2 separate regions of the Homo sapiens genome follow, and region 1 is linked to region 2. Evidence: promoter capture Hi-C in 16 types of primary human blood cells and fetal thymus (Javierre and others, 2016). All regions are on one chromosome and are shown on one strand. The core of a region is centred on a gene start or on the middle of the fragment in contact, and the rest is flanking DNA. Distances in the headings are between cores, read along the strand shown. Region 1 has its middle 89 kb from the start of SGIP1. Region 2 holds the start of PDE4B (phosphodiesterase 4B).

What was found. The method cuts DNA at HindIII sites, captures the fragments that hold promoters and counts their contacts. A CHiCAGO score of 5 or more calls a contact.
Region 1: a fragment that was not itself captured here is called in contact with the fragment with the promoter of PDE4B in region 2 in 1 of 17 cell types (monocytes); the score reaches 5.1 in monocytes.

What each region holds. Positions count from the first base shown.
Region 1 is chr1:66,442,519-66,446,915 of GRCh38, forward strand. No RefSeq gene overlaps it. Among named protein-coding and RNA genes, the nearest start is that of SGIP1, 89 kb to the right of the region's middle. RefSeq lists enhancers at 4,063-4,112, 4,123-4,172. The HindIII fragment of the contact is 3,284 bases long and covers 648-3,931 here.
Region 2 is chr1:65,791,064-65,795,407 of GRCh38, forward strand. It overlaps PDE4B (phosphodiesterase 4B), which reads left to right and starts at 1,832. Exons shown (of 17, transcript NM_002600.4): 1 at 1,832-2,185. The HindIII fragment of the contact is 11,219 bases long and covers 1-4,344 here.

The DNA.
Region 1 (4,397 bases), core at 1,040-3,539, 650 kb after region 2:
GTACCTATGTGCAAGTAAGTGTAAGAAATTGATTGCTGATAAGCAGCATATAAGTGCAGAGTCAGGAATGATGTAATGCCAAACAACCACAGATTGTCCACCTGGGTGGCTGAGATAGTGACACTTTTGCTTTCTGATGGCTCAATGTACACAAACTTTGTTTCATGCATAAAATTATTAAAAATATTGTATAAAATTGCCATTAAGCTGTATGTATGAGACACATAAGACATAAATGAATTTCATGTTTAGACTTGGGGCCCACCCTCAAGATATCTCATTATATATGTCCAAATATTCCAAGAGCTGAAAAATCTCACAGAAACACTTCTGGTCCCAAGCATTTTGGATAAGGAATACTCAATCTCTATATATAATCAAGTATTCTATCATTGCAAAACATATTCTGTGAGCCTGTAGATTGTCTTTTTATTCTCTTTGGAGTGTTTTTTAAGGAGTACAAATTTTAAATTTTGATGAAGTCCAAATTTTTAATTTTTTTTCTTTGGTGAATTGTGTTTTTGATGTCATATCTAAGAAGGTTTTGCCTAACCCAAAGTCACAAAAGTTTCCTATGTTCTAGAGGTTTCACAGCTTTAGGTTTTAAATTTAAATTCATTTTTGTTTATTGTACAAATTATGAATCAAGCTTCATTTTTTGCATACAACTATTCATTTTTTCCAGCACTATTTGCTGAAAAGATCATCCTTTCTCCATAGAATTTCCTTTGTACCTTCACTAGAAATCAGTTGTCTCTCTCTCTATATATATATATGTGTGTGTGTGTGTGTGTGTGTGTGTGTGTGTGTGTGTGTGTGTGTGTAGTTTATTTCTGGACCCTCTATTCTGATCCACTGATTTACTTGCCTATCTTAACACCAATACCATATACTGTTTTGATGACTGTAACTTTATAAGTCATTTTTTTAACTTTTAAGTTCAGGGATACATGTGGAAGTTTGTTACATAGGTACACTCATGTCAGAGGGGTTTGTTGTATAGATTATTTCACCACCCAGGTGTTAAGTCTAATACCCATTAGTTGTTTTTCCTGCTCCTCTCCCTTGCCCCACTTTCTACCCTTAGGTAGGCTCCAGTGTGTATTGTTCCCCTCTATGTGTCCATGCGCTCTCCTCATTTAGCTCCCACTTATAAGTGAGAACATGAGGTATTTGGTTTTCTGTTCCTGAGTTAGTTTGCTAAGGTTGATGACTTCCAGCTCCATCCATGTTCCTGCAAAGGACATGATCTCATTCTTCTTATGTCTGCATAGTATTCCATGGTGTGTACGTAGCACATTTTCTTTATCTAGTCTACTATTCATGGGCTTTTGCATTGGTTCCATGTCTTTGCTGTATAATGTCTTGAAATCATGTAAGGCTACTCCTCCAACTTTGCTCTTCTAATTTTGTTTATTTTTGAGACAGGGCCTCCCTCTATTGCCCAGACTGGAGTGAAGTAACATGATCATGGCTCACTGCAGCCTTGACCTCCCAGGCTCAAGTTTGCTCTTCTTTTTCAAAGTTGTTTTGGCTATTCCAAGTCATTTGCACTTCCATTTGAATTCTATAATCAAATTATTAATTTTCACAAAGCCCTGCTCTGGAAGTCCATCAGGCTCCTCTTGTGTTCCTCCTCCCTGGTCACACCTGGACTTCCTCAAGGCAATAAGCTCTGGCAATGGCTTCAACTTGCTTGCTTCAGGTGTCACTGTCCCTCATTGCCTGATGTCTAGAAACTTCAAAAACTCTTTCACGTATTTTTTTTTCTTTTGTTGTTATTGTTGTTGTTTCAGGCAGGAGGATAAATTCAATCCCTGCTACTCCACCTTCCCTGAAAGTAGACTCGTGTTCACATTTTTCGAAGTATCCTTATATTTTAGATTAACATATTGAGTGATGTACAGATAAAATGACAAGACATCTGGAATTTGCTTTAACATACTACTGACATCTGAAAGTGTGGGGGGCCTAGATGAAACACAATTGGCTCCAAGTTGATAACTCTTCATACTGGGTGATGGGTAAAATGGAGATGAAAGAAAGAGAGAGAGAGAGAAAGAAAGGAAAGGAAGAAAGAAGGAAGGAAGGAAGGAAAGAAGGAAGGAAGGAAGGAAAGAAGGAAGGAAGGAAGGAAAGAAAGTTGGTGTGAGCTTAAAATTTTCCATAAAACAGTTTTCAACATAAAGATCTTGATACTACTGCCTAGCTCAAGGGATTGTTGTGAGGATTAAATGTGGAATTGTATGTAAATTGCCTAGAACTATGCTTAGAACTTAACGAAGAGTAGCTATTAATACTACATAATTGTATAAAACCAACTACCAAATATATATTAAAGAAGTCTGATAAAAATTTCTCCTGAAAAGAGATAACCCTTTAGCTAAGAATGAATGCAGGTCTCTGCTCACCCCCACCACCTTCCTATTCCCTCCCGTGGTGCTGTCTTTCTAATGTCACCCTGAGCTCTGGCTGCCTGGCCCAAATAAGTCAACACGTCAGCATCAGGAAAGAGGTATTTGGAGAAGGATTAGAGAGACAATTTTAAGCTCATACAAACTTTTCTTCTTTCTCTCTTTATTTCTCCCTCCCTCCCACCCTTCTCCCTTCCCTCCCCTCTCCTCCCCTTCCCTCCCCTCCCCTCCCCTCCCCTCCCCTCCCCTCCCCTCCCCTCCCCTCCCTTTCCTTTCCTTTCCTTTCCTTTCCTTTCCTTTCCTTTCCTTTCCTTTCCTTTCCTTTCCTTTCCTTTCTTTTCCTTTCCTTTTTTTTTCTGTGCATTAGTTCCTTCAGGGAGTCTCCCAAACCCACCAACACTAAATTTGGTACCTTTTCTCTGAATTTTCCTGGCACTCTGTCCCTCCTACTGTCAAAGCACTTAAATAGGGCCTGGTAGCTCTCTAGTTTGGAACCTCTCTCCCAATTCCTAAGATTTCCTTACATTTGTTTCCATATCCTTAGAGCCCAGCACATAGTAGACACTCAAAGCATGCTCGTGGAGCTGTTTAACTTCATGGTCCCACCTGTCCATCTTTGCGACCCTCTTCTCTATGTGCTTTGTTTCTTCCTCTGTGGGCTTTGTTCCTGCCTCTGTGGGCTTTGTTCCTGCCTCTGTGCACAGCCTGCTGGGGTGACGCTTTCCTGTTTGAGAGTCTTGACATTCAGTTTCTGTTTATGTACTTACTCAGGCTCATTATAAGAACTGGCTCTTTTCTTTTTCAATTAATTGCACTGCCATGAAAACTCTGTCTCTCCAACCCTTCTCCAAATACCTCTTGTTGCTGTGTTGAGTTATTTGAGCCAGGCAGCAAGAGCTCAGCAAGACAGTAGAAAGACAGAACCAGGAGAGAGAAGAGGAGGGTGCTGGAGATGAACAGAGACTGCAGGGGTCTCCTTTCAGGCTGGTCCAGAGCCCCACATCTCTTAGTATGCACTCAAGTAGACCAGGGTGAAAAATTCAATCATGAAAACGAAAGAACTTAGAACCACAAATGTGAGGGCTAGGAGGGGCATCAACATAACTGAACCTTTCATACTTGCTCCAATCACCAAACACACATGTGCACACACATGTGCAAATGCACGCACACACATGCACACACCTTGTCAGCTGGACTTGTCTCTGAAGTTTCCTTAGGTCATTGTGGAACAAGAGAACAATTTGAAAATCACCGGCCAAGTTGGATATTTTTAATTTGAGGAAAGGCACAGAGATGTTGAGTCTGGTATCCAAATCTCACAATTTCTGGTTTCTTTTCTTTCCATTAATTAATCTACACTGCCACCTCTGACCAAAACAACAACAACCATGCTCCATAGATGTATCTGCATTCTGGATGTCACAGCCATAGAAATCTTCCCAGTGTGAATCAAATATTAGTAGACGTGTTGCTGGAAAAATCACAGCTTTCAAGAATGAATCTGAAAGATTTCAAGCTTTTCTCAGAAAGAAAAGGCCGCGTGATATCCAGATTGAGATTATTTGAAAAGCTGAGACTGGGGAGATGAATCTTCTGCTTGGAAGGCCAGAAAACAACGAAGGCCATTTTGTGTGCCTGAGAGAGAGAGAAAGTGGTTTTACACCACCATCTAGTGGTAGAAAGCAATACTGTCGCTAAAGCTCAAAAAGGGTTCATGATTTTTTTAATTCAACCGACAAGGATTTATTCTAAAGTCTCTGATTTGTCAGAGCTTATACTAGACACTGGGGATATAGCAAATGTTAATTACAAAAATCCATATACCAATTTCAGAAATCTCTCTCCCCCTGTTATTCTTACAAGCATCTCTAGTCTGCGGTCTTCACTACCAGGTCCCTCTCACTCCTGAATCTGTAATCCAAAGTGACCCTCAGACAGCTCAGATACCAGAACATAGAGACCTCTTAAACGCCAAGCTCC
Region 2 (4,344 bases), core at 582-3,081:
ATGAAAACTGTGAGAACAATGACTACATTGCGGATTTTGTTGGCTTCCTTTCAGGTGCTTATTGCCTCACTATTATTAATTTTGGCTTTGGGCTCAATTTCAAGGTTATGGATGAGGTAGATGGTATAGTGTAAGCAACAGGTCCAAAAAGGCAGAATAACCAGCGAACACTTGGTAGCATCTCAGATGTGGGGAAATAGGTGTTTTATACTCCAAACGCTAGTGTTTGAATATGTTTCCTCCAAAACCATGAAGGGGAAAGTTCATTAAGTTCCTACACTGATAAGCTCTTAGACATGCCTTTCAATGTACAGGCATGTAAAGCTATTTTGGGTGAATGGGTGAATAGTAGGTTATTAGGTTATTGCCCTTCTTTGGGAGGTCCCTATTTGTCCTTTAATACACAGTTCAGATGGGATTTAAATTCCCTGACCTGTTCCTTCTCTTACATAGAAAAAATTGCTTCCACTTATGCAATTGGCATGTGCTTCTGTTGTGAAATACTTGTGTTGTTTGTCTCGGGCTTTCATAGTTGGTTCTCCTATTAGGCAGTGAGCTCCTTGGGTGCAGAGACTATGTCCTAATCGACTCTGCATCCTTAGCTTCTGCAAAGTGCTCAGTGCACAGTAGGTGTGCATGATGTTTATTGGAATAAATCGAGAAACAGGCGAATGTTGTCTATTAAAGTCATTTTGGTCTCTAGCTACTGTAGTAGTTGGATAGGCAAAGTTACTTCATGCCTATCTTCCTCCTCTTTTCCTTGCCAGCTTCCTTCTTTTTTTCTCTGACTGAAAGGGCTGGACAACCGGGGAAAAGGAAACTTGTGCTTTCCAGCATACCTCTCCCACTCTACACACACACACACACACACTCTCTCTCTCTCTCTCTCTCTCTCTCTCTCGCTCTCGCTCTCGCTCTCTCTCCATCCTGTTGCATTTTTAAAGCAGGCTCAGTCAGGTTACTGAGTGCCTGTTGCTCCATCACACGAATTCCCAAGTTGTGGGACTCACCTTCAGGGGTGTCTTGGTGGAGCACCTCTTGGGAGGTGATCTGACCTGTTGGTTCAGGAGCACTGCGCGTATTCACTCTGGCGCTCCTTTGTGCAACAGGAGACCAGAGGACTCCCACGGTCCCACTGGCTCCTTCCACGTAATGTGCCCCGCTGGCTCTCTCGCCTCCCCCAACCCGGGGGTCTGCGTCCCCTGCGCCCCAGTCCCTCTTTGTGCAGCCAGTAGCTGCAGAGCTCTTCGTCTTGTATTCATGGCAGATGCACAGCGAGTGACTGACACGTTCCAGGGACGGCGAATGGGAAAGAGCGCGGGCGGCCGGGGGAGGGTGTGTAGTGGCAGACGGCCGCTGGGATTATGAATGGGGGCTGGGGGGCCGGCGAGTGTGGGGTTCAAACCAGGATTTTCGGTCTCTGGCTTTGGATAGGCACGCAGGGCTGTGCGTAATCCTTCAGCTCTGGTGGTAAGGGAGATGCAGTGAGCTCCCGGCTGGGAGAGAGGGTTATTTTGCAAAACTCCCCTGGTACCGTGCCCGCGGAATATTGCAGGAGGTCTGTGAGGTAGGTGGGGGAAAAAATAACCTGGGAGGGCAATCAGGGAGAGGCCAGACGACTGGGGACGGCGTGCTTTGCACCCTAGAATTGACAGGTGGTGGCCTCAGCAGTTACAACCTACTACACAGCATCTCGTCCGTGCGATACGGTCACATTGTTATTCCCCGCACCCGGCTGAGGAGCGCAGCGCGGCAGACCAAGTGGCACCGGCGAGCTGTCTCTCTTCCGGGGGGCGGGGGTGGACAGTAGGGAGAGGGGGTTTAAAGGGCCAGAGGACGAGAGAAGAGCTGAGGGGCGCGTCGCCAGCGCCTGTGTCTCCCTGGCGCGGGTTCCCCAGGCTAGCCCGCTGGCCCGTCCGCGCGCGCGCCCCCGGCCCGCGCGCCCCTTCCCGGGGCTCCTGGCCTCGCCTCAGCGGCTGCAGGCTCTTCGTCGCGGGCCGGGCTGCACGCGAGCGCCCTCCGGGCAGACTTTCGTCCCCCACCCCCGGGAGCGCGGAAGGCTCACTCGCAGCGCATGGTCTACCCGCGCCGGGCGGAGCCCCGGCGTCCAGAGCGCTGCGGCCGCGGCGGTGCAGCAGAGGCGCCTCGGGCAGGAGGAGGGCGGCTTCTGCGAGGGCAGCCTGAGGTAAGGGCTGCCTAGGAGGCTGCGGGTTTATTTTTCCTCATTCTCTTACTTCATCACACACTGAAGCCTCAATGGAGAGTGTAGGGTGCTGTGGGGCTGATGTGGGGCAAAGAGGGAATGGGGCCGCCGGGCCTGGATGGTCGTCTTGACGGCGTCATTGTCGCCCCTTGTAGGAAATCCGCCAACCGGCCCCTAGCCTTTCGCCCTCATCTTCTCTGCTTCGGCTTCCGCCCTTGGACCTCTTGACAAGTCACTGGGGAGGAGAGGATGGAGAGAGGCTAAGGGAGAATGGAGAGAGGCAGAAGGATTCAGGGCTTGGAAGCCCTGGAGTAGGTGACGGATGGGCGCGCGGTGCCCAGTGATTGACTGCAGGCAGCGGGCGCGGAAGGGAACCTGAACTACCCAAGAGTTTGCTGGGCTGAGGCTCCAGGATGCTCCTGCGTGCCCTGGTGGCTGGGGCACCAAGGAGGGGCGCACTCAAGCCTCGGCATCACCAAGGCTCTGCCAGGAACTTTTGGGAAGATTTGTCTGGTGTTTGGTGAGGGGGCTTGGACCTTTCTAGCTACAAGAGTGTGTTGGGGAAGGAAGAGGCTCTCCTCCTTTCTCCTGTCACTTTCCTTCATGCCTACTCTCTTCTTCCATCTTCCTGTTTTGCCTCCTTCCTTCCCGTTTTTCACAGGCCACCTTCCTTGTGCGGTACTTCAAACACAAATCGGAACCCACTATGGCCAACAGCTTTAAAGCGTGTATAAGGAGGAGCGCACAGAAGAATCGCTCTTAATTACAGTAGTTATATATGTGTGTGTGTGTGTCTGTGTGTGTCACACACGTGCCTGGGATAATTTTTAGCAAGACTTTGAGACGGTCACCTAAAATTACATTGTACTTACATTAGGTTTACATCATAATTATATGATGCCACTGAACAGAAATGGTAACTCTATGCATTCTGCATCTTAGATCTGAGATATAACTGTTCTTTGAATCACATGCATCGTTTAATTTCAAAGATTTCCAGCTGCTGGAAAACTCTTGGCTAAGTTATAAGAATGAAAGGCACATTAAGCATAAAAAAAGTAATAAATGTCCAGATACTATTTTTATTAGTAGATCATACTCCCCCTCCGTTTCCTTTTGCCAAAAGCTGTTATTATACCAATTATATTCATAAAAACGAAACAAATTTGGAGATTTCAGTGTTTTTACCTACAACCTGAAGTGTAGGTAGGGGTCTAGAATTTATCTGTACATGAATTCACAAGAAGATAGATAAGGCCAATGATTTCACTGCAGGTAAAGGAAGTTGAGCTTCTTCTCTCTCAGGATACCTCATTTCTTGGTATCCCAAGAGAGAAATCCCCTTAATGTCAATAAATATAGCATTGGTCTCTTCAGCTCTTCAAATCAATACTTGTAGGACTTGACTGTAATATGTTTGCTGGCTGTTTCTATTCTTTTTCATTTTCTAAACAACAACGTGCCAATTTTGTTAATTTACAAAAAATAAGTAAGATTGTTAAATGGACTGGAATTTATGAGATGGCATGATCGATGCATTGAGGCTGTTTATCTATATATCTATCATCTTTCTATTTTTCTTGTTACAGTTGGGAGCTAAACAATGTTGCAGTGTGTCTACTTGTATTTTTATCAGCTGATTTGCTTTTCAGTTTCTTTATGGCTTGACATATTTTGCAAAAATGAATTGTCTTAAATTTCTCTAGAGAGTAACCTGTTAGACATACTGTTTGCTTTCAAAATAGGACTGTTTTTTGATTTGAGGAATAAGAAATCAATCATACATGGTTTTCTGATCTTGGAGTCCTTTGCCTGTCTAGAGACAGGTATTTAAGTATTTAACAGTAATAGTTACTGTGTATGTACAAATAAAGGCTTGTTTGATAAAGATACTGGACACAGAAATAATAATTCCATTTTGGTTTACAAATGCAATATTTAAAATTGTGAAGAAATAAAGAGTTCTAGGTTACTCCTAATATCTTACTTGACTTAATTTGGCTAAGGAGCAAGAGGTATATGAAGAGGTCTTCAGTTAGAAAGATTTGGTGGTTAGTAATTTATTATCATGTCATACAATTTCACCCATTTCTATTTCCAAAAACCTTCAAACAGCATAGTTTGGACAAGGTTTAGGATGT